4 separate regions of the Homo sapiens genome follow, and all the other regions are linked to region 3. Evidence: promoter capture Hi-C in human tissues and cell types (Jung and others, 2019). All regions are on one chromosome and are shown on one strand. The core of a region is centred on a gene start or on the middle of the fragment in contact, and the rest is flanking DNA. Distances in the headings are between cores, read along the strand shown. Region 1 overlaps ZSCAN25 (zinc finger and SCAN domain containing 25). Region 2 overlaps ZNF655 (zinc finger protein 655). Region 3 holds the start of AZGP1 (alpha-2-glycoprotein 1, zinc-binding). Region 4 holds the start of PPP1R35 (protein phosphatase 1 regulatory subunit 35).

The links. The method cuts DNA at HindIII sites, captures the fragments that hold promoters and counts their contacts. A contact is called where the count stands out against the background at its distance.
Region 1: a contact is called between a fragment that was not itself captured here and the fragment with the promoter of AZGP1 in region 3, in 2 of the 25 tissues and cell types used here (heart left ventricle and pancreas).
Region 2: a fragment that was not itself captured here is called in contact with the fragment with the promoter of AZGP1 in region 3 in 4 of the 25 tissues and cell types used here (adrenal gland, dorsolateral prefrontal cortex, lymphoblastoid cells and 1 more).
Region 4: the fragment with the promoter of PPP1R35 here is called in contact with the fragment with the promoter of AZGP1 in region 3 in 1 of the 25 tissues and cell types used here (heart left ventricle).

What each region holds. Positions count from the first base shown.
Region 1 is chr7:99,629,911-99,635,863 of GRCh38, forward strand. ZSCAN25 (zinc finger and SCAN domain containing 25) reads left to right here. Exons shown (of 8, transcript NM_145115.3): 8 at 1-2,498. The coding sequence ends at 110. It also overlaps the pseudogene LOC442603. Among named protein-coding and RNA genes, the nearest start is that of ZSCAN25, 16 kb to the left of the region's middle. RefSeq lists an enhancer at 1-573. The HindIII fragment of the contact is 6,968 bases long and covers 771-5,953 here.
Region 2 is chr7:99,571,727-99,577,510 of GRCh38, forward strand. It overlaps ZNF655 (zinc finger protein 655), which reads left to right. Exons shown (of 3, transcript NM_138494.3): 3 at 519-4,727. The coding sequence ends at 1,858. Among named protein-coding and RNA genes, the nearest start is that of ZNF655, 16 kb to the left of the region's middle. The HindIII fragment of the contact is 3,683 bases long and covers 875-4,557 here.
Region 3 is chr7:99,972,586-99,978,385 of GRCh38, forward strand. It overlaps AZGP1 (alpha-2-glycoprotein 1, zinc-binding), which reads right to left and starts at 3,446. Exons shown (of 4, transcript NM_001185.4): 1 at 3,360-3,446. The coding sequence starts at 3,435. The HindIII fragment of the contact is 25,198 bases long and covers 1-5,800 here.
Region 4 is chr7:100,432,878-100,438,703 of GRCh38, forward strand. It overlaps PPP1R35 (protein phosphatase 1 regulatory subunit 35), which reads right to left and starts at 3,620. Exons shown (of 4, transcript NM_145030.4): 1 at 3,264-3,620; 2 at 2,971-3,187; 3 at 2,754-2,890; 4 at 2,405-2,656. The coding sequence starts at 3,497. The coding sequence ends at 2,483. It overlaps PPP1R35-AS1 (PPP1R35 antisense RNA 1), which reads left to right and starts at 3,791. Exons shown (of 3, transcript NR_187540.1): 1 at 3,791-4,283; 2 at 5,504-5,625. It overlaps MEPCE (methylphosphate capping enzyme), which reads left to right. Exons shown (of 4, transcript NM_019606.6): 2 at 42-260; 3 at 386-512; 4 at 625-1,241. The coding sequence ends at 677. RefSeq lists a silencer at 2,940-3,419 and enhancers at 3,707-4,210, 3,880-4,059, 4,211-4,713. The HindIII fragment of the contact is 5,329 bases long and covers 3,111-5,826 here.

The DNA of each region.
Region 1 (5,953 bases), core at 3,005-5,504, 340 kb before region 3:
CAGGGGAGAAGCCCTACCACTGTCCTGCCTGCGGGCGAAGCTTCAACCAGAGGTCCATCCTCAACCGGCACCAGAAGACCCAGCACCGCCAGGAGCCGCTGGTGCAGTGAGCATAGCAGGTGGCAGGCAGCACCATCATTCATCTTTCTCACTGCAGGGCCTTGCGGGGTGCAAGGTGATGGCTGCAGGAAAGCACTGGTCCCATCGCCTTCCCACCCATTCGCCAACGCGGGAAAGGCAAGGCCTGGCTTACTTAGAGCTTCCAGAGAGCATAGCTGCTTCCATCTCTTACCCAAGTGGTGCTAAACAATTTTTCTTCCAATGTTTGAGGGAAGCAGTCTCCTGCGGTTCAGTTCAGGCTGAGATTTTCTCCTTCAGTGGACTGTCTGTGTCCCCCTGCCGAACAAAGCTGGGAGTAAAGGCAAAACCTTGACACGTGTTGGTAGCTGGGACCTCATCTTCCTGAGGGCTCTGTCTTGCCTGCAGGGTCATAGCTCAGACTCTTCCCCCACCCCCTCTCTTTTCCATTGAACAAACATTTATTGAACATCCTCTGAGCACCTGGCCGTGGGAATGCCGTGGTGAATGAGAGACTAGACGTGATGCCTCTGGGGGTTGTGCGTTGGGGATGCATGCGACAGCCCATGACCCGAGGCATTCTCAGGGTATCTGTGCTGTGTGCCCGTGAGAACATCTTCCCATGACCACTCCTGCCCTCCTGCCCCGTGCTGGATCTTCCCTCCCCAGCTGGGATCTGCTCCCAGGCAACTGTGTGAATTTTACATTATTTGGAGCCTCATCTGTGTCAGGCTATAACATTCTATCCTCATCTGTAAAACTTCCCCGTCCATTATTCCTTGCACTATAACAACTGTCAACACACCAACTATTAGGAAGTTAGTATTTTGCTATTGATCACTGAATAAACATCAGAGTATTTTAAAAAACAGTTCTCTAGAAAGAACTGTTATAATTAAAATGAGTCTGAAAGATGAACTCTAGTATTAATGCCCTATATTTGATGGCACTTTATAGTTCATAAAATTAATTTCACCCCATTCTCATTGGACCCATTTCCCAAGTATTTATTGAGGCCCTGTAACAAACATGTCAGGAACTCTTCTGGGTGCTTGAGACACATCCATGAATAAAATAGGGGGAGAAGCTGTTGACCTCGTAGAGCTTATGTCTCGTGGATGTACCTGATCTTCAGAACCCGTGGATATTCCTGCAAATCCTCTGGGCCTGTATTCATTGCTTTGTCAGCATCTTGCCCTGAAATGCATTTGTCACCTACCTCTTGTTACTAAATGGTCTCTGCCCTCCAGACCCTTGTCATCCAAGGCACTAGGGGTCCTGGACACCCACTGGGGATGATGAGCTGGTAGCGACCTGTTTTGCATGAGTGCCAAGTCAGGAAAAATAAAGATATTTGTAGGCATTAAAAAAAAATACATTTCTTTAAAAATGAGAAGATGCAATATTTGTAAACTGTTGAAGCTTCCTTATTGTGCCATCACTTAAGGGTTTCATTTCTGTTTAAAGTTCTGGAAGCTGCATAACTAGCGTGGACTGACTGCTGTGTCATTGTGCTGTGCCTTTGAACCCTGGCTGAGTGAGTGAGTTTGTCCTTTGTTGATAGTGTCCTATAATTGCAAAATGTGGTTTGTCTTCTGATGCCTCTTAATACCAGATTCTTTTACTGAGATTTTTTTTTTTCATTTTCCATTGTAAATAAGGTAAATGGTAATGACTAACACAAAGCTGTATTACTCAGCCCACTTTGAAACGTGGTTTTATCACCTGTTCTTGTTAGGCAGCATGGTGTCTAATTTTGGCTTAGCAAATGACGCTCCTTGGTCTTCCTGGCTCATTAGCTGTGCCCACGAGGCTGCACTGACTGGGTCGTAAATGTATCTGAGATGTCCACACGGGGCTGCTGCTGCTCCTCTGTAATACTGAGGTCCACATGCAAAATCAGCTTTTTTTCCCCCGTAATTATCAGAGCAGCTAGGCAGGGCTGACAGCCAGGCAGACTCAGTGGGAGGCTTCTGGCCTGAGTGTGGCCTTCCCCAGAGGGTGGTTTTCCAAAGGCAGGTGGGGACTGGGGAGGCCTCGGGGGGCTGCTTGTCATTACCTGAATCACAGATGCTCTTTTGTCATACACAGCCAGCATTCCTCTGGGTTTCAGCAAGTTGGCATATCTTAAGCTTCAGAAGGAGCTGGGCCTTGCTGACTTTCCTATCTGGCCTCTTCCCTATCTCCTGTGGGGCCAAGAGCTTAGGACAGTGTCTCAGAAAAGCCTCTAAGTAGGGGGTTTTTCCCATGGGATTGTGGTAGTCTGATTTTTCATATCTATTCAAATGTTAAGAAATATTTTGTTTTCTGTATTTTTCTATTCTTTAGAAATTTTTTTATAATAGATAATTTCAAACCTATATAAATAAATCCTTATGTATTTATCATTTGACTTTATTATAAACTCATAATCAATCTTGTTTCATCTCTGTCCACTCCTTCCTCCCCGTCTTCCTCCCCCACTGAAGTTTCGAAGTGTATCCCAAGTGTTGTTTATAACCATTTCAGTGTGTACCTGTAAAAGGTAAGGGCGGCTGGGTGTGGTGGCTTACACCTGTGATCCCACCACTTTGGGAGGCCAAGGTGGGATTGCTTGAGAGGAGTTCGAGACCAGCCTGAGCAACATAGTGAGACCTCATCTACAAACAAATATTAACTGGGCATGGGTGGTGCATGCCTGTGGTCCCAGCTATTCAGGAGGCTGAGGCTGGGCATCACTTGACCCCAAGAGGTTGAGGTTGCAGTGAGCCCTGATTGTGCCATTGCACTCCAGCCTGGGAGACAGAGCAAGACCCTGTCTCAAAACAAAACAGTTCCTTAATGTCAAAATATCCAGTGAATTTTAAGAACCCACCTAATTTTTCAATATAATATAATTTGTTGCTTTGTCTCTTAAGGCTTATAATCTGTAGTACTTATCCTTTTCTTCTTGAGATTTATTCATTTTAAAAAACTCGATCATTTATCCTGGAGAGTTTTTTACATTCTGCATTTTCTGTTGTTTTTTTTTTTTTTGAGCTGGAGTCTCGCTCTGTTGCCCAGGCTGGAGTGCAGTGGCACAGTCTCAGCTCACCGCAACCTCCCTGTCCCGGGTTCAAGCGATTCTCCTGCCTCAGCCTCCCAAGTAGCTGGGATTACAGGCATGTGCCACCATGCCCAGCTAATCATTCTGCATTTTCTGTTTGCATACCCATGGCGTGATTTAACATATTTCCCTGCCTTCTGTATTATCTAAAAATGTAGAAGTGTTTAGTGGTGTAATCAGATTCATATTTCACATTTTGGCAAGAACACATTATAGATTGTGACATGCCCTGTTTCTCTTCATATGATTTTAGAAGCCTAGATCTGCTTCTTTCGTTAGTTCTGTAAATGCTTCATCATTTAGTAGTTGGAATATTGTAAGAAATTTCCCTTCATTAACTTAGGTTACCCTTAGATATAGTTCATACAGGGAAGGCAAGAAAATGCTTGATCCTCCTCTTTATTTGCCTGTTTTCAGAATAATGAGCTAGTTACTTTTTGCTTCCTGTAAAGGCAGTCAAGTCTGTAGAAATCAATGCATTCATAGCTTTTTGCTTTTATTGGTTTTTTTGAGACAGAGTCTTGCTCTGTCACCCAGGCTGGAATGCAGTGGTGCAATTGTAGTTCACTGCAGCCTCAAACTGCCAGGCTAAGGTGCTACCCCTTCCTTGGCCTTGCAAAGTATTGAGATTACAGGTGTGGGCCACTGCACCTGGCCTGCACTCATGGATTTAAACATACTTGGTATTGATCAGTCTGCTGGAGTTATAATTTGATGCTCAAATTATTTCACCTTTGACCAGTGGAGGCCCCTGGACCTTGGCTCCTGAATCCTTTTGACATAACCCTAATTCTCATTGACAGCTTCTTTGCTTTCTGGCATGACAAGATGTTCCAGGCAAATGTTCCGTATTTCCTGCCCCTTTTGAGAGTGAAAGTGGGTGCTATTTATTATGCTGGGACAGTGGTGTAAACCGGGACTCTCCAGGTCAAACGGGTATTTGGTCAACTCATAGATGGGCCTCCTTTTGTATGACAAGGCATCTGTGGTTGCCTCACATTGTGATGATGCTGTACACCTTCAGTGTCTGGCTGCATGTGCCGTGCTGCTGGGTAATGAGGGAGGCTGTTGTCCTTTGCAAGAGAAACTCTGTTTTCTCCCCTGGGTGGTGGTAGAACCAGGTAACTGCCTAAGGTCTGTCCTGGGGAAATATTTCATCAAGAAAGTTTGGTCCATGTCATAGTGTGTGCTATGGGTGTTGTCTGCAGGCTGATTATGCTTAAAATACTTTCAGTACCTGTTTTATCCCAGCTGAGAGGCAAGGAGAACCTTTGTTTCTTAAAAAATAAGCTGGTTTCAGCCAGGTGCGGTGGCTCACGCCTGTAATCCCAGCTCTTTGGGAGGCCGAGGCGGGCGGATCACCTGAAGCCAGGAGTTCGAGACCAGCCTGGACAACATGGTGAGACCTTGTCTTTATTAAAAATGCAAAAATTTGGCCAGGCGCGGTGGCTCACGCCTGTAATCCCAGCACTTTGGGAGTCCGAGGCAGGTGGATCACAAGGTCAGGAGATTGAGACCATCCTGGTTAACACAGTGAAACCCCATCTCTACTAAAAATATATAAAAAAACAAAATTAGCTGGGCATGGTGGTGGGCACCTGTAGTCCTAGCTACTTGGGAGCCTGAGGCAGGAGAATGGTGTGAACCCGGGAGGCGGAGCTTGCAGTGAGCCGAGATCGCACCACTGCACTGCAGCCTGGGGGACAGAGTGAGACTCCGTCTCAAAAACAAAACAAAACAAAATTAGCCAAGCGTGGTGGCAGGCGCCTGAGGCAGGAGAATCACTTGAACCCGGGGGGCGGAGGTTGCAGTGAGCCGAGATCATGCCACTGCACTCCAGCCTGGGTGACAGAGCGAGACTCTGTCTCAATAGTAATAATAATAATAATAAGCTGGTTTCAAGTCCCCTCCCTCTGTACAGTACAGATTGACTTAATCCACTTCTGAGACAGGGAAAATGACAGGTAGCAACATGTTTCTGTAGCAGGTACTTGCTCTTAAACTTTGCCAGGGTTTCTCAACCCCTGCACTGTTAACATTTTGTGCCAGATAATTCTCTGTTGGCAGCTGTCCTGGTTGGTTTTTTTTTTTTTCACTGTGTAATTCCTTTATTTTCTGCATATTAGTGCTTTACTAACACTACAACCATAAAGAACACAGTTTCAGGTACTGTACTTTTTAGTTTGGGGCGATCATAGTCTACAGACTCATTTACTTATATTAAACAAGATTAACCTCATTCAAAACATACTGCAGTTTATAAATTCACATAAATACAGAAACTGATGCAATTAAACAACTTCAGGATCTTATTTTTTCAATTCTTAGATTATAATTTTTTTCTGCAGGCTATAATTACCTGCTCCAGTCACCAATGATTATTGTTCAATTTAACTACATCAATTATAAACCTCTTATATCCTTAAAGAAAATTTTAAGTGAAAATTACAATTTCTTACCAAAAGGTTTAGAGTTTTCCAAATTTCAAATATTTCCTTCCCCCTCCCCCATTTCCAGTCAGACATTTCAAATAAACTAAAAATAACCACATCTCACCTGCAACATTCAATAATAGCAATCACTTGATGTATAAAATTTTAACTATGCTCCCAGTTATTTTAAGACACAAAAAAGTGGCTGCCTACCAATCTGTCTTCACAAGTTAGAAATACTACATTGAAGATATAACATGGGCTGGGCGCGGTGGCTCATGCCTGTAATCCCAGCACTTTGGGAGGCTGAGGCGGGCGGATCACGAGGTCAGGAGATCGAGACCATCCTGGATAACAT
Region 2 (5,784 bases), core at 1,466-3,965, 400 kb before region 3:
AACAGGATCTACAGGTCTTTGATCTGGAAACTAAGACTAGAGAAGTCTTAAGAGATGACTGCTCAGGTGAGTAAGGCAGAATCAGATAGAATTAGTAGGGAAGTAAAGTTCAATTGTTGAGCCAAGTTGTAGCTGCTTTGGCACTCAGAATGAAGAGCTCTGTGTGTGTCCTAGCATGGAGAGTTCCTTCCTTTTCCCTTCAGTTAGGTTGACCCTTTCCATTTGTTTAGTATCCGTGCACATGTCGTACTAGACCCCAATCAAGTTGCTTATCTAAAATTCTTTCAGCTGTTTCCCTATTATTTCCTTACTCTGCTGAACATGTCCGCTGTTTTACCTCACTGCTCCTGTTTATGCCCTTAACTTCTGCTGTTGAGATTTTGTGCCTGTTTTTCAGAGTAAATAAACTTTTCTTGTCCTTGTAGATACTACATTGTTTAGTTTTCTCATCTGAGTTTTCTTTTCCTAAGCACAGGGTACAGATTACATTTGCATTTTCTATTTATATATTGTATCAGATGGAGAGACCAGAGAAGAGAACAAGCTGTTGATTCCTAAGCAGAAAATTTCGGAAGAAGTGCATTCATACAAAGTGAGAGTAGGAAGACTCAAACACGATATTACCCAAGTTCCTGAGACTAGAGAAGTGTATAAGTCTGAGGACAGATTAGAAAGACTTCAGGAAATTCTAAGGAAATTTCTGTACCTGGAGAGAGAGTTTAGGCAAATAACAATCAGCAAGGAAACCTTCACCAGTGAGAAGAACAATGAATGTCATGAACCCGAAAAAAGCTTCAGTCTGGACTCTACTATTGATGCAGATCAGAGAGTTCTTAGAATACAGAATACCGATGACAATGATAAGTATGACATGAGCTTCAACCAGAATTCAGCCTCTGGTAAACATGAACACTTAAATCTAACAGAGGATTTTCAGAGTAGTGAATGTAAGGAAAGCTTAATGGATCTCTCCCACCTTAATAAATGGGAGAGCATCCCTAACACTGAGAAATCCTATAAATGTGATGTATGTGGGAAAATTTTCCATCAGAGCTCAGCCCTTACTAGACATCAGAGAATCCATACTAGAGAGAAGCCCTACAAATGTAAAGAATGTGAAAAGTCTTTCAGTCAGAGCTCAAGTCTTAGTCGACATAAAAGAATACACACTAGAGAAAAACCTTACAAATGTGAAGCATCTGATAAATCCTGTGAAGCGTCTGATAAATCCTGTAGTCCAAGCTCAGGCATAATTCAGCATAAGAAAATTCACACCAGAGCCAAATCTTACAAATGTAGCAGTTGTGAAAGAGTCTTCAGTCGTAGTGTCCACCTTACTCAACATCAGAAAATTCACAAAGAGATGCCCTGTAAGTGTACTGTATGTGGCAGTGACTTCTGCCATACTTCATACCTACTTGAACATCAGAGGGTCCATCATGAAGAGAAAGCCTATGAGTATGATGAATATGGGTTGGCCTATATTAAACAACAAGGAATTCATTTCAGAGAAAAGCCCTATACGTGTAGTGAATGTGGAAAAGACTTCAGATTGAATTCACATCTTATTCAGCATCAAAGAATTCACACAGGAGAGAAAGCACATGAATGTAATGAATGTGGAAAAGCTTTCAGTCAAACCTCATGCCTTATTCAGCATCACAAAATGCATAGGAAAGAGAAATCGTATGAATGTAATGAGTATGAGGGCAGTTTCAGTCATAGCTCAGATCTTATCCTGCAACAAGAAGTCCTCACCAGACAGAAAGCCTTTGATTGTGATGTATGGGAAAAGAACTCCAGTCAGAGAGCACATCTAGTTCAACATCAGAGCATTCATACCAAAGAGAACTCATGAATGTAATGAAGATGGGAAGATATTTATCAAATTCAGGCTTCATTCAGCATCTGAGAGTTCACACCAGGGAGAAATCATGTATGTACTGCATGTGGTAAAGCCTTCAGTCATAGCTCAGCCATTGCTCAGCATCAGATAATTCACACCAGAGAGAAACCCTCTGAATGTGACGAATGAAGAAAAGGTATTAGTGTTAAACTCTTAATCGACTCCTGCAAATCTATACCAGTGAGAAATCTTACAAATGTATTGAATGTGGCAAATTTTTCATGCTATTAGTATTTTCATACCTTAGTCACATTTGGAGAATTCACATGGGAATAAAATTCCATTGCTGCAATGAATGTGAAAAAGCCATCAGTCAAAGAAACTACCTTGTTTAGTATCAAATTCACGCCATGCAAAAAGATTATAAATGTAATAAGCATGTATGTGTGTGAGGAGATTCAGTCATAACCCAACGCTCATTCAACATCAAAGAATTTATACCTAAGAGAACTTATTTGGGTGTAGTAAATGGCAGATCTTTCAATAGGAGTTTAACTAGTCTTTGTCATATCAGAATATCCATAGTAGACAAGAATTTGATGTAACGCAAATGGAAAAACTCGACACCACATTTCAGGCTTTACCCAACATCGAAATAATGGAGAGAAAATTGTTGATTATTTGTTTATGAAATTGTTAATACATAGTCCCAATCTTTTTCATTGCACAAAAATCTAGGGTTGACTTGGTAAATGCAGTGACATTTTCTCATGGAGTTCCTTTATTTAATATGTATTCTAAGTAGGTACGTTTATTTTTACTTTTTTATTATAATTTTGATATTAAAAAGAACAGAGATGGGGTCTTGCTTTGTTGCCCAGGCTGGTCTTGAACTCCTGGCCTCAAGCGATCCTCCCACCTGTCCTCCCAAAGTGCTGGGGTTACAGGCGTGTGTCACTGTGCTGGGCCTATTTTATTTATAGAACTCATTTAAGCTGTTTTTATTTTAATATGCCCTATAAACATTTTTATATTTTTTGAAATTGGTTCTTAGTGTTCACAACTTCCATAAGATACTGCTAATGCACCAGTATTAAAACACATCGACGTAAGTAGCTCATTTAGCTTTTTCTGCTGTTCTTGGCCCAAGTTCTTTCCAAAACCAACTCTTAGGCCTGCTCTTTACTAGGGATCTTATGTCGTATTGCTTTACAGCCACAACACTTGGATTCCTGTTGATTAACTTCTCCATTCTCTTAAGCACCTTTAGAAGATTTAGAAGTTTCCTAGTTTTAAGTGTTTCACCAGCAAGTATTCCATACCTACTTGATGTTGCTGGTCTGGTGTCTTATTTCCTAAAGTGAAGCATCTTTTTTTAAAAAAGAATTTGATTGACAATATATCCAGTCCAATATAAGTATGAAGGATTCTCTCTCCTGAGATTGTAGCAGGCAGCCAAACATTTTCAAATGATGCCCAAGGTTTTAGCTGTCTTGTGTGCATCCACAGTCTGCGAAGAAGACATGATAAGGACATCAGGGAGCCAACAAGACTCCTAATAGCCTCACTACATTCATCCAGTGCCTATTCTGCATGCCTAAGCTTAGAGTTCTTTTATATACCTCTACGGCCAGCAAAATGCTCAGGTCTGCTCTTGGTAGGGTAAACATAAAGAAGATACACAGGCCGGGCATGGTGGCTCACACCTGTAATCCCAGCACTTTGGGAGGCTGAGGCGGATGGATCACGAGGTCAGGCAGTCGAGACCATCCTGGCCAACATGGTGAAACCCCGTCTCTACTAAAAATACAAAAGTTAGCCGGGTGTGGTGGCACGCGCCTGTAATCCCAGCTACTCAGGAGGCTGAGGCAGGAGAACTGCTTGAACCTGGGAGGCGGAGGTTGCAGTGAGCCGAGATTGCACCACTGCACTCCAGCCTGGGCGACAGAGCAGGACTCTCTCTCAAAAAAACACAAAAAAACAAAAACAAAAAACCATACACACACACACACACACACAAATCAGCATCATAAGGGAATGTAGCCTTCCAACAGAGATGATGCTGTTCGTATGTTAATCTCAGAGACAGTATTTCAAGAGAGTGGCAGGTCTGTTCCTGGTAAAATTTTAACCATTAGGATTGCAGATAAATGTTTGAATTCTGCTCCTCTCTCATCAATCCAGGACAGTATTTGAAGTGTGAGGGCTTTGTGTATAGTTGTTTATCCATTACCACATTTTTGTATTTTAATAGTCTACAGGCTATATAAAAGAACATGGCTTTTTGACTGATAAAAGTGATTACAGATGTTGGCTCAAGTTCAGGGCCACCATCATATACCTAACAAGAGTTCATGATTCTTTAGGTAATGTCAAAACATTTTGTATTTTTCCATCTTAAGCTTTATAACATTTTGTGAGTAAGACAAATGTTATTTAAAATTCTTGTTGTCAGTCCAGCAATTGAGGCTTTCATAGTTCAGTGTTATAATATTCAGTAGGGACCCTCAACAAATATATAAAAATATGTTGCTCACTCTATAATCCTCCTATGGCTAACCTCTAGGATAGTTCTGCCACTATATTTTACTTCTTTGCCATCAGCAAGAGTAGGATTTCATCAAGGCAAGGTAGGAATCTAAATGAAATTGATATATAAATGAATTGATCTAAATGTAAAAGCAAATGAAAAATGCATGTGTTTTTTCCTGTCAAACATGTATACCCTTATGTATAGAGACCAGTAGTCACGTATGGTGACTGAAACAGGATTATGTAATCCCTAAAAAGCAGAATATGTAAAAATCACATGTATGCGTTTGGTTTAGGAATGTGCTTTTGTACTTCCACTTGAATAAAGGTGTGTTTGGTATTCTGAGAATTTGTTTCAAACAAAATCTGAAGGTCTCAGACAGAAGCGTTTGGGAATGTTGGAATCACATCTCTGGCTGCAACTCCTTTCCTCCCTGGAACTTGCTTCACAGCAAGAATGGATCACTTTCCTTTGCATTGATAACAAAGCTTGCTTTTCCACAGACCTCTGGAACAAAAGCTGAATGTTTGGGACTTAAAGGGGATTTGATTGGGAAGTTGTTGGTATATAAAATAAGACTAAATAGTTCGAGGTTTCAGTAGAACTAGGAATAACTTTTTGTTTGTTTGTTTGTTTTTTGAGACAGTCTCGTTCTGTCACCCAGGCTGGAGTGCAGTAGCGTGATCTCGGCTCACTGCAACCTCCGCCTCCTGGGTTCAAACGATTGTCTTGTGTCAGCCTCCCAAGTAGCTGGGATTACAGGCACCTGCCACCTTGCCTGGCTGATTTTTGTATTTTTAGTAGAGACCGGGTTTCACTGTGTTGGCCAGGCTGGTCTCAAACTCCTGACCTCAGGTAATCTGCCTGCCTCAGCCTCCCAAAGTGCTGGGATTACAGGCGTGAGCCGCTGTGCCCAGCCATATTTTTTAAATAAGTAAAACACTTTAAAAAAGGCGGACTCAAAATAGTCCTTTAGGGCAATCCTTTAAGCAGATATTTAATTGGCCTGATACATGAGTTTGTGTTCTGAGTCATTTTGGTCTTGAAAGGGGAGAGAAGAGAAATACGATAGTAGAGGGCACTTTTATCTTCTGTCTTTCCACCTACCTACACACACGTATGTTTGTACATATCTAAACTTTATTCTCAATTCTGCAAAGCAGCTAGCTTCATTTTACAAAGGAATATTTTAGTAAACATACCCCAGGCCAGGTGCAGTGGCTCACGCCTGTAATCTCAACACTTTGGGAGGCTGAGGCGGGCAGATCACTTGAGGTCAGGAGTTGGAGACCAGCCTGGCCAATGTGGCGAAACCCAGTCTCTACTTAAAATAGAAAAATTAGCCAGGCATGGTGTTGCGTGCCTATAATTCCAGCTACCTGGGAGGCTGAGGCGCAACAATAGC
Region 3 (5,800 bases), core at 2,196-4,695:
GCAGATTACTTGAGATCAGGAGTTGAAGACCAGCCTGGCCAACATGGTGAAACCCCATCTCTATTAAAAAATACAAAAATTAGCTGGGCATGGTGGTGCGGGCCTGTAATCCCAGTCATGCTGGAGGCTGAGGCAGGAAAATCACTTGAACCAGAGAGGCAGAGGTTGCAACAAGCCAAGATCATGCCACTGCACTCCAGCTTGGATGACAGAGTGAGACTCCGTCTCAAAAAAAACAAATTAACATTTCGTCCGGGCTCAGTGGCTCACGCCTGTAATCCCAGCACTTTAGGGGGCCGAGGCGGGTGGATCACGAGGTCAGGAGATCGAGACCATCCTGGCTAACATGGTGAAACCCCGTCTCTACTAAGAATTCAAAAAATTAGCCAAGCATGGTGGCGGGTGCCTGTAGTCCCAGCTACTCAGGAGGCTGAGGCAGGAGAATGGCATGAACCCGGGAGGCGGAGCTTGCAGTGAGCTGAGATCATGCCACTGCACTTCAGCCTAGGTGACAAAGCAAGGCTCCATCTCAAAAAAAAAAAAATTAACACTTCTAGCTTAACCTGACAAATACATATAGTTAGAAAGGGTAGAAAGGAGAATTTACCAGAAAATTCAAGAAATGACCCAGACTGAATTAGCACAGGGTAAGACTAGGATGGAGCTCAGAATTCCCGGGGTTGTACCTTGCATTTTGGTACAAGGTGGGATCTGGGAGAGAGGGACATTTCCATAATAGTTCCATAATTATTTTATGATACAATTTACACAGGTGCTAATGATGTTGGAGGTCATATGGCAGAATCCTAGTTCAATTACTAAAATTATTCTTGCTCCTGAGTGTCTAAATGTGATTAGCCTTTAAATCAGTAGACCCTACAATTGAATTCATGGACATAGAGAGTAGAAGGATGGTTACCAAAGGCTGGGAAGGGTAGTGGCAGGGTTGGGGGGAAATTGGGAGGGTGGTTAATGGGTACAAAAAAAATAGTTAGAAAACTATTTGATAGCACAACAAAGTGACTCCAGTGAATAATAATTTAACTGGGGCCAGGTGTGGTGGCTCATGCCTGTAATTCCAACACTTTGGGAAGCTGAGGCAGGTGGGTCACTTGAGGTCAGGAGTTCGAAACCAGCCTGGCCAACATGGTGAAACCCCATCTCTACTAAAAATACATAAATTAGCCGGGCGTGGTGGCACACACCTGTAGTCCCAGCGACTCAGAAGGCTGAGGCAGGAGAATCGCTTAAGCCCGGGAGGCAGAGGTTGCAGTGAGCCAAGATTGCACCACTGCATTCCAGCCTGGGCAACTCTGTCACAAAAAAAAAAAAAAAAAGAAGAATGAATAAGACCTACTATTTGATAGCACAACAGGGTGACTATAGTCAATAATAATTTAACTGGGGCCAGGTGTGGTGGCTCGTGCCTGTAATTCCAGCACTCTGGGAGGCTGAAGTGAGTGGATCACTTGAGGTCAAGAGGTCAAGACCAGTCTAGCCAACATGGTGAAACCCTATCTCTATTAAAAATACATAAGTTAGCCGTGTGTGGCAGTGTACACCCGAGGCAAGATAATTGCTTGAACCCAACAGGCGGAGGTTTGCAGTAAGCCAAGATCACGCCACTGCACTCCAGCCTGGGTGACAGAACAAGAATCCATCTCAAAAATAATAATAATAATCATAATTTAATTGTACACTTTTAAATAACCAAAAGAGAGGCCAGGCGCAGTTGCTGACACCTGTAATCCCGGCACTTTGGGAGACCAAGGCGGGCAGATCACGAGGTCAGGATATCAAGACTAGCCTGGCCAACATGATGAAACCCGTCTCTACTAAAAATACAAAAAAATTAGCCAGGTGTGGTGGCAGGTGCCTGTAGTCCTAGCTACTCAGGAGACTGAGGCAGGAAAATTGCTTGAACCTGGGAGGCGGAGGTTGCAGTGAGCCGAGATCATGCCACTGCACTCCTGCCTGGGTGACAGAGTGAGACTCTGTCTCAAAAATAAATAAATAAATAAATAATCAAATACTTTTAAAAACTAAAATAACCAAAAAAGTATAATTGGATTGTCTGTAACACAAACGATAAAAGCTTGAAGGGATGGATACCTCATTTTTGATGATGTGATTATTTCACATTGCATGCCTGAATCAAAACCTCTCATGTACCCCATAAATATATACACATACTATGCACCCACAGTTTTTTTTTTAATTTACAAAAAAATCAGTAGACCTTGAGTAAAGTGGATTACTCTCCATAGTGGTGGGCTTCATCCAATCAGTTGAAGGCCTTAAGAGAAAAAGCCTCAGATGTCCCCTAAAGAGGAAAGAATTCTGCCTACAGTCTGCCCTTGGAATCAAGACTAAGACATCAACTCTTCCCTGGGTCTCCAGCCTGCTGGCCGGCTCTGAAGATTTAGGACTTGTTACTCCTCCCAATAGTGTGAGTCAATTTCTTAAAATAAATCTCTACTCTCTCTCTCTTTTGTATACATATATGTAAATCTCTTCCTATGTGTGTGTGTATCCATGTGTATACAGTGTATGTATGTATGTGTACGTACATATATATGTATATGTGTACCACCTATTAGTTCTGTTTCTCTGGAGAACCCTGAGTAATTCAGATTTTGGCACAGAATCAGATTAACATTCCAAAGTGATTGTTATATAACAAACATATAACACCTTTTCTGACAATTTGTAAATGTCATGAATTTTAAACTCACACAACTGAGAAGCCATTCGCTTCCATGTCTTTATCCTGCACATTCTCATGCCACAAACAGCCTCCTTCCCTTATCCTAGGAGTGACTCTTGATCTCCCGGAGCTCCCACTCTCTTCTCTTCCAGCCACTCGCCTTCCAGACCCACTGCAGTGGTGTCTGAGTGTGGGATTTGGGCACGGGTTTCCTTCTAGCACCATCCCTCCAGCCAACCTGCCTTCCCACTTTCCCCTTGGGGCTGCTCTCTCTTTCCCTCAGCGTCAGGCAGGTGTACCCAGCCATCGGAAGGAGGGAAGGAACAGGAGCAGAAGCAGCTCCAGGCATATGGTTCCTACTCCGTCCTGACTGTCTACCCCAAGCAGGTCGCTTGGTCTTTGGAGTCTTTGTTTTCACTGTAAACTAGGGGTTTTAGATTCAGATTCCTGAAGGTCTTATTTCGGGCCAGCGCAGAGGCTCCCTGAATGCTCCTGGAAGTGTGTGAGCTGAGGGAGTTGACAGCCTTGGGCACCCATTCCTGCCGTATGCCAGGGTATCCCAGCTGCATCCAGCCTGTCTCCCAGCCACATGTCCTGTTCCTCACCTCCTTCCAGTCCTCTCCAGCACCCATCCCTTGCTTTCCCCACTCACCATCTTGGTTCTCCTGGGGGACAGCAGGACCCAGAAGCAGCAGCAGAGACAGCAGGACAGGCACCATTCTTACCATTGTGTCTGCTTGGAGGGTTCTGGGCAGGAGGCACAGATATTATCCTGGGTCCTGGGGCCCTGCCCAGGGGAGGTGAATCTACAGGCCAATGGGAGTGCCAGGACGGGCTCCTCCCCTAATAGAGAAAAAAAAATGATACACAAGCTAGGCTGGGCAGAGGTTATGAAGAATGAATCTACACACAGGATATGCAAATTCAGAGCTGAGTCCAGAGTTGATCTCTGGACTGAGGCTTTGTGTGTGCCTGGGGTGGAAGGATGCCAGTGGGTAGGAGGTGCGTGTGATGGGTGGCAAGCGCCTGGGATGTGTCACCCTTCCAGTCTATTGTGACAACCCCTGGGCCAGTAGGGGCATTTGTGTGTTTTTGGACCACACTGTATCCCTGCCTTCCAGAAAAACTCTCAACATGTCCAAGACATGGACCTGGGTAGACCCCAGCTGGGGTGGGACCCTCACTCTCCCACATCCGATCCTGCCAGAGGCTGTGTCTGGAGGACAGTCACATTCCCATCTCTCCCTCCTTCCTTTCTGTGCCTGTGGAATCCCAGCCTTCCATGATGGAAGCAGAAATAGCCGCATCCTCCTTTTGCAGCCTCCCTGGCAACAGAACGAGCCTCCCAAAATGCTGGGATTAAAGGCGTGAGCCACCACGCCCAGCCAAGATAATTTTTAATGCATACAACAAGACTCGTTTTACACAGACGAAGCCAGTTATTTGAAAACCAGGTCTTTCCAGGCACGCTCAGTGTTGATGGGCTATTTGCAGAGAGACCCTCCGAATACAAAGCAACATGCTATTCTAAAGTGACTGGGGCCCGGGTGCGGTGACTCATGCTTGTAATCCCAGCACTTTGGGAGGCTGAGGTGGTTGGATCACCTCAGGTTGAGGTCAGGTACTCGAGACCAGCCTGGGCAACATGATGAAACCTCGTCTCTACTGAAAAAATACAAGAATTAGCTGCGCGTGGTGGCACATGCCTATAATCCCAGCACTCAGGAAGCTGAGGCAGGGGTTTCACCATGTTGGCCAAGCTGGTTTTGAACTCCTGACCTCGTGATCTGCCCGCCTCGGTCTCCCAAAGTGCTGGGTTTACTAGTGTGAGCAACTGTGCCCAGCCTCTCTTTTGGTTAAAGAAACCTACAAAGGGACCTTTTATAGTGACTTCAATTTTATGGAATAATTGTAATGCTCCTAAGGCCGTTGTGCTCCAAAGTCTAGCCGCAGGTATTGTTATTGATTGGGCTCCAAAAGGGCATTATTGGCAAGATTGCTCCAGCAAAAATACCTCATGCTCAGAGTTTAATTATTTGTTAGATTATGTAGAGGATGGATGGCAGTCATACAGGCTGAGACAATGGGTGTCCCCTTACCTATTTAAATGGATGGATGCAGGCATTACTCCTCCTAGACCAAAAATGATTCATCCCTTTGTTACCCCAGAACATCCTCAACTATGAAAATTAGCTGCAGCTATGACAGGAATAAGGATATGGAACACTACCTATCAACTCCTTCACACTAATACCAAAACACCCACATTCAACATCACCCTCATATCTGAACGGGTGATACCCATCAGGAGCTATGTCAAACCCCCTTACATGCTGTTGGTTGGAAATATAATTATCATTCCCAATACACAAACTATAGAATGTGATAACTGTAAGCTGTTCACGTGCATTGATGCTACTTTTAATCCCACTACAAGTACTCTCTTGGTAAGGGCTAGGGAGGGGGTATGGATACCAGTTTCTTTACATCGTCCATGGGAGTCTTCCCCCTCTATTCACATAGTCAATGAAGTTCTTAAAGGTATCCGCAAAAGAACAAAGAGATTTATTTTTACTCTTATTGCCATCATTGCAGGACTAATTGCGGTTACTGCAACAGCAGCAACTGCTGGAGTTGCCATCCACAATTCTGTTCAAACCGTTCAATATGTTGAATTGAAGCATGGCAGAAAAACTCCTCCAGACTTTGGAATTCTCAGGCTCAAATTGATCAAAAATTAGCTAATCAAATTAATGATCTCCGCCAAAGTGTAATCTGGCTGGGAGATATGAATTTGGAACACCGTATGCAATTACAGAGTGATTGGAATACTTCTGATTATTGCATAATGCCTTATGCTTATAATAAATATCAACATAGCTGGGAAAATGTCTCAAGACATTTAAAAGCCTGGGATGATAACTTAACCTTGGATATTTCAAAACTTAAAGAGCAAATTTTCGAGGATTCACAAGCTCATTTATCCACTGTTCCTGGCTCAGACATTTTTGAAGGCATAACTAAACAATTATCTGATCTTAATCCCTTTAAATAGATCAAACCCCTTGGAGGATCATTGTTGTCACTGGCATT
Region 4 (5,826 bases), core at 2,370-4,869, 460 kb after region 3:
TGATTCCCTCAGTTGACCTCACTGCCGATTCTTGCCCTCAGGGTAATTATGTGCTGGATCGAGATGACCTGGTGGAGGCCCAAACACCTGAGTATGATGTGGTGCTCTGCCTCAGCCTCACCAAGTGGGTGCATCTGAACTGGGGAGACGAGGGCCTGAAGCGCATGTTTCGCCGGATCTACCGGCACCTACGCCCTGGGGGCATCCTGGTCCTAGAGCCCCAACCCTGGTCGTCGTATGGCAAGAGAAAGACTCTTACAGTGAGTTGGGTGTTGGGGGAATAGTCATTCCTTTGGTTGAGGCAAGAAAAGGCCCCGAGGTGGGCATCGCCCTTGGCCAGGGGAGGCGGCAGCGTGCTGAAGTGGTCCCTTGCCTCTCTCCTTAGGAAACGATCTACAAGAACTACTACCGAATCCAATTGAAGCCAGAGCAGTTCAGTTCCTACCTGACATCCCCAGACGTGGGCTTCTCCAGCTATGAGCTTGTGGCCACACCCCACAACACCTCTAAAGGTAAGGCTGGTTTATTTTGTCAGGGAGGCTGGTCCTGGCTGAAAGAGTGCAGACCCCCATGGGGATTCTTGAGGTGCTGCCAACCCCTTCTGATCACTCTCTCTCCCCTCAGGCTTCCAGCGTCCTGTGTACCTGTTCCACAAGGCCCGATCCCCCAGCCACTAAGTGGCCCCCTAAACAGAAAGTGTGAAGAGGCTGCCCTCGCTGCTCATAAGGACCTGGGGGAAGAGGAAAGTGTCCCAAGGTCTTTCCTTTCTGACTCCAAAAATAGTTTCCTTTCTTGGATCTGCAAAGAAAGCTTTTCTTCCGTCGCTGCCTCAGCCTCCTCCCTATGCCTCTGGCACCTGCGCAGCAAGGCTGGCTGTGCTGGAGTCACCATCATCTTCCTCTCCCCCAGCCTCCCAGGCTGGATGGCATGGACTGTTTGCTGACCTCTGTTCTCTTAGGGCATGGGAGGTGGGAGGATATCAAATTCTCTAGCCCTTTCCTCCTATTCTCCCAAGGAGAGAGATTCCCATTTCTCCTCGGCCATTGTACCTAGCTCTTGTCCCTAGCTGCATTTCAGTGGACCATGGATAGAGGGACTGAGGGTTAGACGGGGAAGACTGGCAGGGAGGCACGCAGGTACTGTGAAAATCCTTCCCTTTGCCCTCCCCCAGTGGGAGAGGGGGTTGGGTTTTCAATGTGAGAACAGCACAATAAACTTGATGTCTAGGGCAGTGGCCCCCACACCTGTCTCGGTACTGTCTAGCTGGTGGGGGATGGGTGGTGCCTCCCACCAGAACCTGTGCTGTTTATCTTCCATCTCAAGGAAGACACGTTTTTCAGTGGTTGAGCTGATTGTTGAACACTAGTCAAGTCCACACGCAAGTACACAGAAGCCTAGTCAGGAAAAGGTGTGTAATGCAAATTTTGGTGTGGAACTTGGAGTCTGCCTTCCCTCCCCAGAAAAACCCCGTAGACGTTTTGGGCAGAAGGCTAACTTTTTGGTTTTTGTTTTTCTGAGATGGAGATTTGTTCTGTCGTCAGGCTGGAGTACAGTGGTGTGATCTCGGCTTACCGCAATATCCGCCTCCCAGGTTCAAGTGATTCTCCTGCCTCACCCTCCCAAGTAGCTGGGATTACAGGCACGCGCCACCATGCCCAGCTAATTTTTTGTATTTTTAGTAGACACGGGGGTTTCGCCATGTTGGCCAGGCTGGTTTCAAACTCCTGACCTCAGGTGATCCACCCGCCTCGGCCTTCTAAAGTGCTGGGATTACAGGCGCGAGCCACTGCACCTGGCCAGAAGGCTAACTTGGAAAGAGTTGACGGTGGAGGTAGGCAAAAGTGCTTTGGATCAAATGCCCAGGGACGGGCCAGCACCTTTTTTGTGCTGTGGAATCAGACTTACAGGCAATTAACAACATGAAGCTCTTCGGGGGCTTGTTAGGTGTTACTGGAACTTCGAACATACTGAGTATTCAGGTCAGGTGTAAACAGGATGGGCAAGGCTCTTAAAGGTAAAAAGCAAGGAGATAATTTCAGTAACTCAGTGCAGACAGCTGGCTTGCAAGCTCCTTGAGACAGGTAATCATGGAAGGTTTTCGTGAAGTGTGATAGGCTGGGCTCTGCATTTTGAGAGATCAGAATAAGTGATGCAGAGAACAATCGCTACCTGATCAAAAACAGGCAGTAGCTGTGGCTGAAGTCAGGGAGAGGCAGGTAAGGTTGTGAACGGAGGGGTATCTAAGTAAACCTCTAACGTGGACAGTGTTTTCCACTTGCCATGACTCTACCAAGTTCCAAAAAGGCCCCCAAACCCGACTTCCAGGCAGCTTCCAACCTGAGGCTAAGTGGATAACCCCCTAGAGAGCTTTTAACCCCATTTTAGGCCTCCAAGAAGAGTCCCATTTATTAGCAAAATTACTTTATTCTAACAAATAGTTTAACACAAAAATACGAACTAGCCCTCCAGGGATCTTTGGGGTCTACGCTTCCCATCGCCTCAGTGTCCGGTGCATGAGGAAGGTGTCCTCTGAAGGGCGGGGCCGGAGTTGAAGTCGGAGAGGGGGCAGACCGTCCAGGGTCAGGTGTGGAGATTCATAAAATAGCGTTTCTGGGTCACACAAGATGGTCATGTCTGGCCCAGGCCCAGGTGGCTCCTGTTGGGAGGTTGGGCCCAAAGCAAGGTTACACTTTGGGAGGAAGGATCCGGGTAAGGGGGTACATGGAGGAAGCCCCACGCCCAGACCCCATCACCTTTGGGTGCGGGGCTCGAGCCTGTGGCGGCAGGAGAGCCAATTTCTCCCTGAGCGCGGCATTCAGAACCTGTTCCTCCGGCACCTGCAGGCTCACCAGGTCCCGGAAGAGCCGCTTGGAGCGCGGCACGTTCAGCCCTGAGAGCGCAGCGGGGACGGAGGTGAGTGGCGCGCCTCACCCCGACTCCCGCACGCGGCCGGCCGCCCGCCCCCCTCACCCTCGGACACGCTCTCCTCCAGGCCGCAGCGGATCTGGAACGACTTTCTCAGCTGTTCCTCCACGGCCTTCGCAGCATCAAAGTGGCTCCCGGCTGCGGCCCGCAGCTCCAGGCCCAAGGCCAGGCTGCTCTTCAGCACGGGCATCTCCAGCTCCTGCGGCACCGCAGGCTGCGGCTCGGACCGCACCGGGGAGGGCGGCGTCAGGCGGAAGCGGACCTGGGAGCAGAGGGCAGGGCAGTGACCAGGTGGGCGCGAGGCCGTCGCGGGCCGGGGGCCAGCCTCCCCCGCTCACCTGCCGCCGCTGCCGAGCCGCGCCCCGCCGCTCCGCCCGCCCCTTCCGCCGCCCGGGGCTGCCGTGCCGCGGCTGAGGGCTGTCGGGCCGCGGGCTCAGGCTCAAGTCCAGGCCGGGCTCGGGCACTGGGGCTCGGAGTTGCGGGACTTGGGGCTCCGGGGGTGGCCCCGGGACCGCCGCGGCTTCTTCCCCGTCCGCCGACTTCAGCTCTGACTCCCCACAACCCATCATCATCTTTGGAGGTGCCTTGAGGGTGCGGGGATGCGGGGGTCGCAGACGCTCCAACGGTCAGGGGACACAGCCTGGCTGCCGCCTCCTTTCCCCCGCCCCTCCTAGACGCCGCTACCGGAAACCGTTAACCCTTTCCTTCGGGGGCGGAGTCAGCAGCCCCACCCACCCTGTTGTCGCTCCCAGGCGTCATTTCCCTCGCTCCGTCCCCAGGTTTCCGGCAGGCTTCCGCACTCACAGCCTTGGCACCGCCCCCAAGCCGAAGTGTTGGAAGCACTCACAGCCTTGGCACCGCCCCCAAGCCGAAGTGTTTTTGAGCTGGGGTCGGTTGAAGCCCTACGGGTCCTCATCAGGGCCACTCCTCCTCTTGAAAACTCTGCTATGGCTGAGTTACCCAGAGGAATCTTAGTCCTGCTAGCGCTGCGATGCCCATTGCCCAGTGTGTCAGTCCTCATTCTGGGGCGCCAAATGGGGCAGCATTTTTTTTTTTTTTTGAGACTGAGCCTCTCTCTGTAGCCCAGGCTGGAGTGCAGGGGCGCGATTTCGGCTCACTGCAACCTCCGCCTCCCAGGTTCAAGAGATTCTCCTGCCTCAGCCTCCTGAGTAGCTGGGATTACAGGCGCGCGCCATCACGCCCGGCTAATTTTTGTATTTTTAGTAGAGACGGTTTCACCATGTTGGTCAGGCTGGTCTCGAACTCCTGACCTCGTGATCCGCCCACCTCGGCCTCCCAAAGTGCTGGGATTACAGGCATGAGCCACCGCACCTGGCCATAAATGGGGCAGCTTTAAGGTAACGGTCCAGTGTGCCCTGACCTCCCACTCAGACCTGCACAGCATTTCCGGTGTTCCGTTGCCTCCAAACTCGGACCGGAGTTGGCCTGTATGAGTGCGGGCGAGGGTCGCCGACCCCATCCCGGACTCCCTTCTGGGACACAGCAACTCTTGCAGCTTTTTGTGACTACTTTTACCTTCGAGAGTTCCCTGAAATATTAATTTGTATAAAAAGTAGATATCTGGCACGGGTGCGGTAGCGCATACCTGCAATTCCAACTCTGGGAGGCCAAGGCGGGAAGATGTCTTGAAACCCTGAGCTGGAGACAAGCATGGGCAACATACCGAGACTCCACACCACCATTCCCAATCTCTACCAAAAGAATTTAATTTTAGCCGGGCGTGGTGGTGGTGCTCACCTGTAGTCCCAGCTACTGGGAAGGCTGAGGCGGGAGGATCACTTGAGTCCAGGAGTTCCAGGCTGCAATGAGCTCTGATCATACCACTGCGCTCTAGCCTGGGCGACAGAGCAAGACCCTGTCTCAGAAACAAACAAAAAACTCTGTATTGTGGGTTCAATGTTTTATTTTGTTTTTTGAGACGGAGTCTCGCTCTGGTGCCCAGGCTGGAGACTGTGGCACAATCTCAGCTCACTGCAACGTCTGCCTCCAGTGTTCAAGCAATTCTCCCACCTTAGCCTCCCAAGTAGGTGGGATTACAGGCGCCTACCACCACACCCGGCTAATTTTTTTTGTATTTTTAGTAGAGACAGGGTTTCACCGTGTTGGCCTCGAACTCCTGACCTCAAGTGGTTCAGCTGCCTTGGCCTCCCAAAGTGCTATGATTACAGGCAGTAGCCACTGCACCCAGCCTTGAATTCAGTTTTTTTAATTTTTAATGTCAGTGGACTTATCCTGGGCCCTGAGCTTTTCCACATAGCAGAAGACCCCTGAACTGCAGAAAAGGAAATGAGAGCTCCCACCTGCTCCTTAGGTTACTTGGGGCAGGTCCCCTCAATTCTGCAAGTCTCCTTTCATTTTTTGTGTAGAATGTAAGTGGAAGTGGGTTCAGGAATCCTTTCTTACTCTTTTTTTTTTTTTTTTTTTAATTCTCCAAACTGCTTCAAAAAGGTTCAGGAATCTTGAAGCTTTCCTGGAATTGATTGATGCTCAGTCAACAGGCACGTTTGTGTACCACTTTTCATTATGAGTTTCCACATTGTTCATTTTATCTTTCCAGGAAGTGCTGTGGAACATCAGATAGAATGGATAGCACAGCCCAAATTTTACAAAAAGGATTTTAAAGGAAGATCTCAATGGTGGAACACTAGAGGCTTTCCTGCTAAAGTTAAGAACAAGCAAGTATGTCTATTATCTCATTGTTCAATTGTGAAAAGAAATAGCGAGGTACAAATATAAATTTTTAAACTGGGAGTATAAATTAAAAATTTTTAATAGCGACATAGGAGGGAGAGAATAGAATGAAAGACAAACAGTCTTATTCCTCCAAATATACTTTGTTTTGTATATTTGACTTTGGAAATGTATGCATTTTATATGATT